Linked DNA regions of Homo sapiens: region 2 is linked to region 1. Evidence: promoter capture Hi-C in 16 types of primary human blood cells and fetal thymus (Javierre and others, 2016). All regions are on one chromosome and are shown on one strand. Each heading gives the region's core, a stretch centred on a gene start or on the middle of the fragment in contact. The rest is flanking DNA. Distances are from core to core; before and after follow the strand shown.

The links. Contacts are between HindIII fragments. The CHiCAGO score rates a contact against its expected background, and 5 or more counts as called.
Region 2: a fragment that was not itself captured here is called in contact with the fragment with the promoter of SLC39A12 in region 1 in 1 of 17 cell types (M2 macrophages); the score reaches 5.5 in M2 macrophages.

Annotation. Positions count from the first base shown.
Region 1 is chr10:17,948,634-17,954,734 of GRCh38, reverse strand. It overlaps SLC39A12 (solute carrier family 39 member 12), which reads right to left and starts at 2,817. Exons shown (of 13, transcript NM_001145195.2): 1 at 2,710-2,817; 2 at 1,198-1,544. The coding sequence starts at 1,458. The HindIII fragment of the contact is 2,620 bases long and covers 1,744-4,363 here.
Region 2 is chr10:18,221,504-18,227,604 of GRCh38, reverse strand. All of the region lies in intron 2 of CACNB2 (calcium voltage-gated channel auxiliary subunit beta 2), which reads right to left. Among named protein-coding and RNA genes, the nearest start is that of CACNB2-AS2, 37 kb to the left of the region's middle. The HindIII fragment of the contact is 2,157 bases long and covers 2,472-4,628 here.

The sequences.
Region 1 (6,101 bases), core at 1,568-4,067:
TATGTATTTATGGGTTCGTCCTAAAAAATCTCGTGGGTCAGGAATGGGATGGTGGAGTAGGTTTTATTTTTTCTTTTGTAGTCATTTAAACACATGAGTTCTCACCTCCTTCCATCCTACCCCACCCTCCCTAATGAATAAATTCTTAGACATCACTGACGTCATATTAAAGTGACCTGGAGGCCGGGCGCCGTGGCTCACACCTGTAATCCCAGCACTTTGGGAGGTGGCGGCAGGCAGATCACGAGGTCAGGAGTTTGAGACCAGCCTGGCCAACATGGTGAAACCCCATCTCTACTAAAGATACAAAAAAATTAGCCGGCCGTGGTGGTGGGTGCCTGTAATCCCAGCTACTTGGGAGGCTGAGGCAGGAGAATCACTTGCACCCACGAGGTGGAGGTTGCAGTGAACCAAGATTATGCCATTGCACTCCAGCCTGGGCAACAGGGCGAGACTCTGTCTCACAATAAATAAAATAAAATAAATAATAACCTGGAGAGACTTTTAAAAGTTCTATCCCAGGCAAGTAAAATCTCAGTCTCTAGAGGATGACACCTAAACATGGGTATGCTGGGAAACCTATGCAGCTGATTCCAATCAGGGTTGAGATTCGCTTTGTAGGCTAAGATCAGGCTGTGACTCAGGCCTCAGGAGCCATGGGTGCGACTTCAGCTCCACCTGCAGCATCTGTCTCCCCAGCTCAGATTCCTCATCGTTAAGATGATTATCCAATCATTAACTACCCGCCATGCATAATATTAGAAAATACCATGCCAGGAAAAAGTACTCAAAAACCCAATGTTGGGCAAATATCAGATCGCATTATGCTCCAGCAAACAAATAGCAACTAAAACTAGTCACGTGCAAGTGCACTGAAGGCTTTAAGAAAAGATTAGTCAATCAGAAAAGAGGACTAAAAGTTCGCGCTCACAAATAAATGCCTCTAAATATGCAGAAGGGTTCTAGAAAGCCTTACATAAACATCATCCTTTCAACAACAAAAATGTCCCTAGGTGCTATACATAGAATGCTGATTTGCTGTATCCCAAATATGGAAATTATTTTACCAGAATGCATTGCTCAATTGCATATTGGAAGATTTGCCTGTGATTTTGCTTTACTGAAATAAATCCCTATAGAATCCATTGCTTTCTTTTGGACATGCCCTGATACCTGACCCCATTCTATTTCACTAACCAGATTGCAATCTCCTTGCATTCCGTTTCTCCTCCGTGGGCACCCAGTTTTCTCCAACAATGTTTTGATGAGGCTTCTTGAGTGGTTGTGGGGTGGGTGGTCACCAGCAGAGAGAACCTGTAGCAGGTCTGCCGGTTGGCCTGAACTCCCACGGCTTCTGCTATCCTGGGCTGAGGGTTTGTCTGTCTCAGTAGAAAAAACACGGCTGAGTAGAAGAAACAATGGCACCCAGGATACTGAGAGCTTTGTCCGGAAGCACATTTCCACGCTTCCTCCACCTTGAGTCTGTCTTGGATGGAGGTGAGTGTGTTGCCGTTTATGGGGTAAACTTGTAACCAAAGGAATTTCTGTGGTAAAGGGGAAAAATAAAGCCTTCAATTATTGTGCCTGCAACATGTTTGAAAGGATTCATTAATTGGGTGGCTAAGCTGATTTGCAATGACAAGCTGTTTCTACACAGCGGGGGTCTGTAGGTAATTTCTAACCCCAAATGGCAGGAAAGCACCATGGCTGTAGACTTTCAAACTGCACAGCAGCCAAAAAGCTTGCTAGATTCTCTCTCCCTAAACTAAACATAGCGTCACGTAAGTTTCTCCATTTACCAACAGGTGGTACAAGTTATAGGACCCAGGTTGGGAAACACCTTATGTTTATCCCATTATAAAGAACTCCAAGTGATTCATGGTCCTCATGAAAAAGAGAAAATAAATTCTACTAAATGACCAACATCATGTTGAGTTTAAAAGTTTTAGGCCAGGCGCGGTAGCTCACACCAGTAATCCCAGCACTTTGGGAGGCTGAAGCAGGCAGATCACGAGGTCAGGAGTTTGAGACCAGCCTGGCCAATATGGTGACACCCCCGTCTCTACTGAAAATACAAAAATTAGCCAGGTATGGTGGCACGTGCCTGTAGTCCCAGTTACATGGGAGGCTGAGGCAGAAGAATTGCTTGAACCCGGGAGGCGGGGGTTGCAGTGAGCCAAGATCGTGCCACTGCACTCCAGCCTGGGCGACAGAACAAGACTCCATCTCAAAAAAAAAAAAAAGAAAAAAGAAAAAAGAAAAAAAAAGAGTTTTAGACAAGGAAAAGCACTAGAAGAAAATAGTAATGTTCAGAAAACACAGGTCTTTTTTTTAGTTTACTAAGAATCAAGATTCTAGAGCAGGAAGCATCTTAGAAAAACAGAATTTCGAGACCTCAAGAACATGACACACACACACACACACACTCACTCAGTGGTGACTAAAGGAGTGGGGGATGACTTTAGAGCCAATCAACTTCCTGGAAAAAAAAATTATCTTTCTGTTGATGGCTTAAGGCATGTAAAATGTTAACAGCATCTCATGTCCGATCCTGGCCCAGAGATGAGCTGGTAAATGACTGTGGGCTAGTAACAAAGGTACTGGGATTACTTTTATGAGTTAAAAACAACAACAACACTTTAAGGTTGTTATGTTAGCAATTTAAAAGTGACAGAGGATGATGCAAGCATTTCTAACCCCAGTGCTTACCTTCAGAAGAAAGATAAACGATTCTTTATCTGGAGCTCCACAGCCTTTTAAATCCTGGAGAGTATTTCACAGTTACAAAGTTCCCTGTTTTTAAAATTCTTTGACTGTGCACTGGGAGCTAGAGAGGATTATTTCAGCCCAGAAAAGTTTTCAGTTGCTATGGAGAGAGCTGCTCTGAAGGTAACAATGAAGGTGGATAAAAGGGAGAACTTTCTGTCTGGTAGATTTTCAAGGTAATCAAATCAGTGTGGTTCATGAATTTAACTTTTTAGATCAAGAATTAACCAATTTTCTTAGGCTCACCTACTGTCACTTGCCTTTCAAGGGACAGAATCTAGGTCAAAGGATTTCACCTCGCAGAATAGAAAGACTTCAGTGTTAGATGAAGATTTTTTCCTCTCCAGTTGATTCTGTAATAACTGTTTCATCCAGGCTCAAACCAAAGATTTGTTGAAAAGATAGGCTCTTTGGAACCATATTTGTTTTGCAAGATGCAGAAGCCTAAAAGATTGAAGTCTTTCGTAATGAGATGCTTTCAAATGAAAAGTATTGGTTGAAGGAATGAAATTCTTACCAGGGATGTAGGTAGCATAAATGAGGAACTTTAATCAGCTGCATATATTGTGATCACCAGCACCGGTGGTAGTTCTTACATCAGATCCTTCATGCTCCTCAAAACAAAACCTCTCAACAAATTATTAGTGAATAAATGACTAAAGGAACAAAGTGGTTCATTTTCTAGGAAGCAAGAGAAGTTAAATCCTAAGATTTCAGAGTGGGCAGAATGCATGCCCACAGTATAGGGGTTTAAGTCAGCTGGTGGGCAGGTAGAGGAAATTTGAGATCAGGATGATTAGCCTCATCACTAATTGTATATGAAACACGGGAACCCTGCGGTAGGATATTCCTGAGAGAATGCTAGTAATGAGAGATGACAACTTGCTAGCAGCCCTGGCTCGCTCTTGGCGCCTCCTCAGCCTCAGCTTCAGCTCTCTCCGTCTTCAAGGAGCCCTTCAGCCCGCCGCTGCGCTGTGGGGGACCCTCTCTGGGGCTGGCCGAGGCCGGAGCCGGCTCCCTCTGCTTGCCGGGAGGTGTGGAGGGAGAGGCGTGGGCGGGAACTGGGGCTTGATCAGAGGCTGAATCCCGTGCGTGGACCAGAACGTTGGCCACGATGGCGGGTCTCCATCTCTTTCTTGCTTCCCGTCTTTTGCTCTTGATTGTCTGGGACGAGCTCCCTCTAGGCTGCTGGAGTGCCCGGGCTAGGTGCTCCGGATAGGTGCCACAAAGTCCCGTGGCTAGTGCCAGTGAGAGGTGAAGCCAGCTGGGCTTCTGGGATGGTGGGGACTTGGAGAACTTTTCTGTCTAGCTAAAGGATTGTAAAAGCACCAATCAGCGCTCTGTGTCTAGCTAATCTGGTGGGGACTTGGAGAACGTTTGTGTCTAGCTAAAGGATTGTAAGCACACCAATCAGCACTCTGTGTGTAGCTAAAGGTTTGTAAACGCACCAATCAGCACTTTGTCAAAATGACCAATCAGCTCTCTGTAAAATGGACCAATCAGCAGGACGTGGGTGGGGCCAGATAAGGGAAGAAAAGCAGGCCACCCCAGCCAGCAGCGGCAACCAGCTCAGGTCCCTTTCTATGCTGTGGAAGCTTTGTTCTTTCACTCCTCGCAATAAATCTTGCTGCTGCTCACTCTTTGGGTCCATGCCACCTTTATGAGCTGTCACACTCACCGGGAAGGTCTGCAGCTTCACTCCTGAAGCCAGCAAGACCATGAACCCACCAGAAGGAACAAACAACTCCAGACGTGCTGCCTTTAAGAGCTATAACACTCACCGCGAAGGTCTGCAGCTTCACTCCTGAAGTCAGCGAGACCACGAACCCACCAGAAGGAAGAAACTCCGGACATATCTGAACATCTGAAGGAACAAACTGCAGACACACGATCTTTAAGAACTGTAACACTCACCGCAAGGGTCCATGGCTTCATTCTTGAAGTCAGTGAGACCAAGAACCCACCAATTCCGGACACAGTAACACGGATGGAAATACGAAAGGCAAATATTCCTAGAAAATTTCAGGCTTTTTTTTTTTTAGATGGAGTCTCACTCTGTCACCCAGGCATGAGTGCAGTGGCATGATCTTGGCTCACTGCAACCTCCACCACCTGGGTTCAAGTGATTCTCCTGCCTCAGCTTCCTGAATAGCTGGGATTACAGGCAAGTGCCAGCACACCTGGCTAATTTTTTTGTATTTTTAGTAGAGACAGGGTTTCGCCATTTAATGGTGGCTAGGCTGGTCTCGAACTCCTGACCTCAGGTGATCCACCCACCTAGGCCTCCCAAAGTGCTGGGATTACAAGCGTGAGCCACTGCACCCAGCCCAGGGTTCTCTGTAATAAGCCCTCAGGGAACAGTTGGGCTTAACTGTCAAGGAAAGGAACTTGGCTTGTGTCTTGTGAGCTCTGTGCTGAGATTAACTGAAGTTAGAGTCTAGAATCAGCAGTCAAAGAGGGCAGCAGGGAGTTGGGACTGAAAGTCACGCCCTTTAAGCTGAGAGTCCAGTGGAGGCAGAGAAGCAAGGAGGGAGCAGGCTCAGGACCAGAGGGGCACCCGATCACAGCTCCCTGTGAGCTCCTCTCAGTGCCAGCTCTCATCCCCGGGGACCACTTGAGCATCTTTTTTTTTTTTTTTTTTTTTGAGACAGAGTTTTGCTCTTGTTGCCCAGGCTGGAGTGCAATGTTGTGATCTTGGCTCACCGCAACCTCCACCTCCCAAGTTCAAGCAATTCACTTGCCTCAGCCTCCTGAGTATCTGGGATTACAGGCATGTGCCACCACAGCCAGCTAATTTGTTTGTGTTTTTAGTAGAGATGGGGTTTCTCCATGTTAGCCAGGCTGGTCTCAATTGAGCATCATTTATAAGCTGTGTCCCAGTCTCTAAGACTTGGTGATGAGATCACTAAGGAGAAATAGTCCAATCCCTATTCAGCAAGTTCTCTGGTCCCACTATCACCTACGTTAACTTGCCAAAAAAAATCACACAAATTTAGAAAATAGACTTTATTTCTTATAAATGGGTTACAGCCTGCTAGGCGGCCACTCTGATAGGCTGGGAATCACAGCCTTGGCCATCCAGCATTTGCAGGCACTTCACAGGAGGAGGCACTGGGGCAGGAGACTTACGCTCTGAACATGTTGGCAAAACATACATATTCAATAGGTTACAGGAGGTGCTATGAATATTCATTAAAGGTCATCCTGATGCATGTGTATTGAACATGCATCTAACACACAACCCATGTTCACCTTGAGGTGGAGACTTAAAGTTTAAATGTATTACAATTAGGTCCTATATGTCAAAAGGTGAAGGAGACACACAGAGGTATTCA
Region 2 (6,101 bases), core at 2,301-4,800, 270 kb before region 1:
AAGTTCCCTCAATAAATCACCCAGTTCCAACAAACTGTCTCTTTGATTTCTCAGCTCCTTTGGCATTTGGGTTTGCTTTGCCTTTATGTGCCTTTCATGGAACACTACTGAATTGAAATAACGTTAGTACCCCCATCTCTGCGCTTTCCTCCTCCTTCCATCCATCAGTTCATTCCGAGCTGGGGTATTTTTTTTCTCCTATCTCTCTTTGACTGCATACCCTCTGACATGGAAGCCTCCAGAGCCTCCAGCCACTCCCCAGCCCACACCAAATCCTCCCCCTGGCCATCCAGCAACCAGGGGCCCCAAATCTGCGCTTCTGGATCACAGCTATGCCTGTGCTTCTGCTCCTCCTCTCGGTACAGAAGGCACTGCCCCTTCTCCTTCTTTTGCTTTGATCTGATGCACTCACCAAGACCCAGTTTGCTGACCTCCCTTCTGAGAAGTGCTACTGACCCCATTACGATATTCGACATAAAATTCTTCCTATCATTTCAGAAAACGTGTTGTTTTATCATTATGGTCTTTTCAGAAGGGAGATTTCTTTTTCTGCCTCTAATGTGGGCTGCTAATGTCATCCTCAGAGCTATGGGTGAAGAAATAGTCTCATTTAAGTGGCCATTCTCCTTGATTTGAAAGTGCAGCTAAATAACCCTCGCTCCCTCCTCCCCCACTTTTTTTCCATATTCCCAGGCTGGATAGTAGCAACATCTGAAAGAGACACCAATAACCGCAGACCTGTACAGTGTGGCAAAACTGGGAGTTAAAAGACAGGAGTTAAAATCCTGGCTGTATTCTGCCTGTGTCTTGGGGTGGTTTGATATTTCCTGGCTTACTTCTTTCCTGTGGTTTCTGGGTAAGATTTAAATGAGATTATACCTGCAAAAACTGTTTGTAAACCATTAAACAGTATACAAATGTAAGACAGAATAGACATTCAATTGATATTGATTGAGTTAATTCATTAGTGATCATACGGCCACACGCTCATGAATCTCAAGAAGTGCCGGCAGATCGTAGAAGCAACAAACAGGAAGATCAGGTTTTAAATCCCCATCTCTGCCTCTTACTGGCTGTGTAGCCTGGGGTCATACCAAATGAAGGAACCACAGCAGGGGACTGGTTTATAAGGAGCATTAAAACATCACTAGGGTAATTTGGGAAAAGGAATAGTTAACTCAGATCTCACTGTAACTCTTACAAAGCTAACAAAATGCATTATGGATCCAGCTTCTGCTGAAGTAGCCGATGCCAGTCAATAGAAACTTAAAACCATCCGTCTGGGGGCGGTGGCTCACACCTGTAATCCCAGTACTCTGGGAGGCTGAGGTGAATGGATCACTTGAGCTCAGGAGTTCGAAATTAGCCTGGGCAACATGGCAAAACCTCTTCGCTACCAAAAATACAAAAATTAGCCAGGCATGGTGGCACACACCTGTAGTCCCAGCTACCAGGGAGGATGAGGTGGGAGGATCACTTCAGCCCAGGAGGCGGAGGTTGCAGTAAGCCTAGATCACACCACAGCACTCCAGCCCGGGCTACACAGCAAGACCCTGTCTCAAGAAAAAAAAAAAGAAAAGAAAAGAAAAGAAAATTAAAAAAAAGCATCTCTCATCATGCTAGCCTGCCCTCCACTAAGAACATGTCTTTAATATTTGAAAATTAGGCCAGGTCCAGTGCTTCACACCTGTAATCCCAGTGCTTTGGAAGGCTGAGGCAGGAGGATCACTTAAGCCCAGGAGCTGGAGACCAGCCTGAGCAACATAGTGGGACCCCATTTCTACAAAAATTTAAAAACTTATCCAGGTGTGATGGTGCACATCTGTAGTTCCAGCTACTAGGGTGACTGAGGTGGGAAGATCATTAGAGCCCGGGAGGTGGAGGTTGCCGTGAGCTATGATGGCACCACTGCACTCTAGCCTGGGTGACAGAGGGAGACCCTGCCAAAAAGATGAAAGAAAGGAAAAGAAAGAAAGGAAGGAAGGAAGAAACGACGGAAGAAAGGAAGGAAGGAAGGAAGGAAGGAGCGAGGGAGGGAGGGAGGGAGGGAAAAGAAAGAAAAGAAAGAAAAAGAAAAGAAAAGAGAGAGAGAAAATTATTTGAATGAAGACTAACACAGAGCCTGCCTGTGGTGTCACGAATCCTGGTTCAGTCCTGGACCCAGGCCATATTTCTTAAACCCTCAGTTTCTTACATTGTAAAATGGGGCATCTAATATTTATCATGAAAGGCTGTTGTAATATTTTGAGGTGACCTACGAAAAGTTTGCATCAAGTAGGGACTTAATAAACTGGAAGTGAGTGGTGTGGTTTTTAAGCTGCTTAGCCCTGTCTCTCCAGGCTTTACCCTCCCCCATCCCCCATCCTCTGCCAGGGATTTTGTAATATCTGATATTAAAAAGGTTCTGCCGACTCCTCCCAGCTCAACAGAACATGGAAAAATACAATAGATCACTTTAAAAAAAAAAAGCTTATTATGTGCAGCCAAAAGCCTGAGAAACAGCAGGTCACATAAAATGAAGGAAATGAAATGTCCATGCTAAGTAATTATGTAGCCTTGGCCTTGAGCAAACAGAGGGCTGGCTGACATCAGAAAAGAACAAGGGCCATAGAGAGCGAAACACGCGGACACCTTGGTGTCCACACTAGGCTCATCCTGAAAAAGGGAGTGGAAATTGACAGGCTGAGGTATAGATGAATGTGCCTGTCAGGATGTAGCAGGGAGGAGGCGGAGCTTAGGCCACCTTAAGGGAGGACTGAGGCCCTTTAACCTGTTTCTGCTCCTGCAATCTGGAGATGGCATGACTTCGATTTGGCTCGGCAGGCCGTAAAAGCCCGCAGTAAAGTTATTACCTTGAAAGAGTGATTCTATATTGGACTGAACTCCCACAAACGCTGGGCTGGTCATGGTTGTGGGACGTAGGCCTTCTGTTCCCAAGCATAACCTCCTACTCTCTGACACAGGAGACTAGGGGGCCCAGGTTCTCATCCAGGTTCTATCAGAACGAGCTTCTTAACCTGATCCAAGTTGCTAACTAACTTGGGGTAAAATGAGAATATGAGCATCTGTCCCAACCCTTCGTGGGTTAGAGAAAGAAATTCTTTGGAAAGTATAAAGTAGCTACAAAATGAGGAACTTTAAGGAGCCGGGTAATTTTCTTCAATAAAATGGATTTCCTTTAATTTTGTATGAAACTCACTTCCCAAAATCGATTTCATATCAGCTGAGCTTTGAGACTACAAAGAAATTGGAATTTTTTTTTTTTTGAAGGGAGAAGTTGAAAGAGGGAGGGAAGAGGAGGGAGAAGGCACACGGAAGGTAGGTCTTAATCATATTTAAGCCTGATAAAAAGGAGTTAGAAAGTTTGCTGTGTTTAAAGCAGTTGTTCATAGTCCTAGAAACCATTCTAGCCAAAAAAGACAAGAAACAGCAGAGACTTTCGCTAAGAGGTTTAGGAAAAGCAAACATTGCAAAAGAGTAATATTTTATTTTATATCTAATTTGTCCTTATTACTCATCTCTAGGGCCACCTAAAAGCAGTCCTTATCAAACTAAACCTCATTAATTCTAGATATGAAAATGAGTCCACTTTTCCCAGGACAAAAAAAAAAAATAGACCCCTTAGTTTAAGATGCAGTGATATGTTAGTAGAAGGGGTAGGCTGCCTATTATCTATTTTTCTGTACATATTTCACTAGATGGAAGAGTTCCCATTTTCTAAGAGCCTAGCAGTTTCTGTTTTATTGGGGGGAAAAGCAACACAAAGGGAAAATTTAAAAATAAAATTTCTGCAATAGGATTCTGTCTCTGAAATTGAAGACAAAAATTCTCCTTAATATTATTACAGCTTTATTTTTAAAAACTAAAAAGGAAATTAAAATATTAATAGTGGTTGTATCTGGTGATGAAAGAAAAAGACTGTAGTACTTTTAAATGTTTTGTTAGTTACCATATAATAGTTTATACTGAAAAATTTCATTTTTAAATAAAGAAAAAAATGTTTCCTAATGTAAAAAGAAGGGAACATAGGAGCATTCTGTTTTATGTGCTTTTCTGCATAAGTATTAAAAACTACTACATTTTTACTATAACGATTGCTCCTGAAAATCGTGTAAAATACATTAAATAATCAATAATTATTCATGGAACAAGAGGAATGTATTAGTAGTGTAATACTCTTTTGCTTTCACAAAAATTAAATATGCTAAATGAAATTTCATTTATTCATTCAACAAACATTGGCTGGATGTATATTACTGACTAGCCTCTTTAATGACATTCTCTTCTGCAGTGCTGTGGAGTTGTAATTATTTATGCCAATTATTAATATTCAGTATTACATATATAGAAGGTGTTGGATATATGATTTAATAGTTCATATTTGAAGACCAGATATGTAGGGATTAAGCAAAAGGCATCAAAATCAAACAAATCTTTCTGAAGCAAAATTAGCAATGCTCAAAATCCTATTTAAATGGCTCATCTGTGTGTGTGTCATGCCCATAAATATGCCCATGACTGACAGCAAACCAGAAAGCCTTCTGGAGTTGTGTCAGATGGGATTTTTGAGTCATTTATGTAACACACAGAACACTCAAAGCAACAAAGTTAACAAAGGAATGAAAGCTTACTTTTGAGGCAAGTTTCACATCTTTTATTTTTCTTTTTGAGATGGAGTCTCACTCTGTCGCCCAGGCTGGAGTGCAATGGCGCAATCTCAGCTCACTGCAACCTCCGCCTCCTGGGTTCAAGAAATTCTCCTGCCTCAGCCTCCCAAGTAGCTGGGATTACAGGCGTCCACCACCACGCCCAACTGCTTTTTGTATTTTTAGTAGAGACAGGGTTTTACCATGTTGGCCAGGCTGGTCTTGAACTCCTGAACTCAGACGATCCACTCACCTCGGCCTCCCAAAGTGCTGGGATTACAGGCATTAGCCACTGTGCCTGGCCATTTCACATCTTTTATGCTCAATGTGCTTTTGAATCCAATGCCAGTTTTTGCATGTCATCCATGAATATCTCAGCAGGCATCTCTAAATGATCGGTACTACTTAAATAGAACCTAATAACAAAAGCCATTATCACAAGCAAACAAACAAACAAAAAATAGTAACTCTTTAATATCAGCAAACATCCAGTCTGTGTTCTTATTTCGCAGAGGGTCTCACAGAATTTGTGTGTGTGTGTGTGTGTGTGTATGTGTGTGTGTTTTCAATCATTTGTTTAAATCAGGATCCAAATAAGGTCTAAACATTGCAACTGGTTGCTGGGTCTTATGTTTCTTTCCTCTGCAGATTCCCCATTTCTTCCCATTGTCCCCTTAGCAATGGGGTCATAAAAGAAAACTGGTCATTTGTCCTACAGAATTTCACACAATCTGGGTTCTGCCTCGGCATGTGGTCATTTAACATATTCCAGTGTAGGCTGCTGTTTCAATCTAGAGGTTGGATCGGATTGTGATGTGAATGTGGCAGGACACGTCACAGGTGTATTGTGTACTCCTGCCAGGGATACACACTGCCAGGTTCTTCCTTTCCTTGTAACGTTAGCAACTACTGATATCACTGCCTTTCTTTGGCAAGTTTGCCAGCCAATCTCTAGGACTGCATAATGGTGAAATCCTAATTCTCTGGTCCCTCCTTTGTGTAGTAGATGAAATACTTCTATAAAGAGAAACTACCTCAATACCAATTGGGCCAATGCTACTTTCCAAAAGGAAACACTGCAAGCTTTTGATAAAGACAGAACACAAAATGCCTTCCAAAATTCTGGATTGGTTTCCATGGATAAAAAGAAAACTATACTAGAGGAGAGAAAGATATGATTTTCAAACATTTTACTTCTTTTGCAATGAATTTATAAAGGTCTTTTAAAATGGTTTTCAGTGCTCATGAACACAAAGGTTTTCATTTTTTACTTTTATTTTTTGAGACAGTCTCGCTCTGTTGCCCAGGCTGGAGTGCAGTGGCGCAATCTCAGCTCACTGCAACCTTCACCTCCCAGGTTTAAGCAGTCCTCCCACCCCAGCCTCCCAAGGAGCTGGGACTACAAGCAAGAGGCACCACATCCAGCTAACTTTTGTATTCTTAGTAGAGACAGGG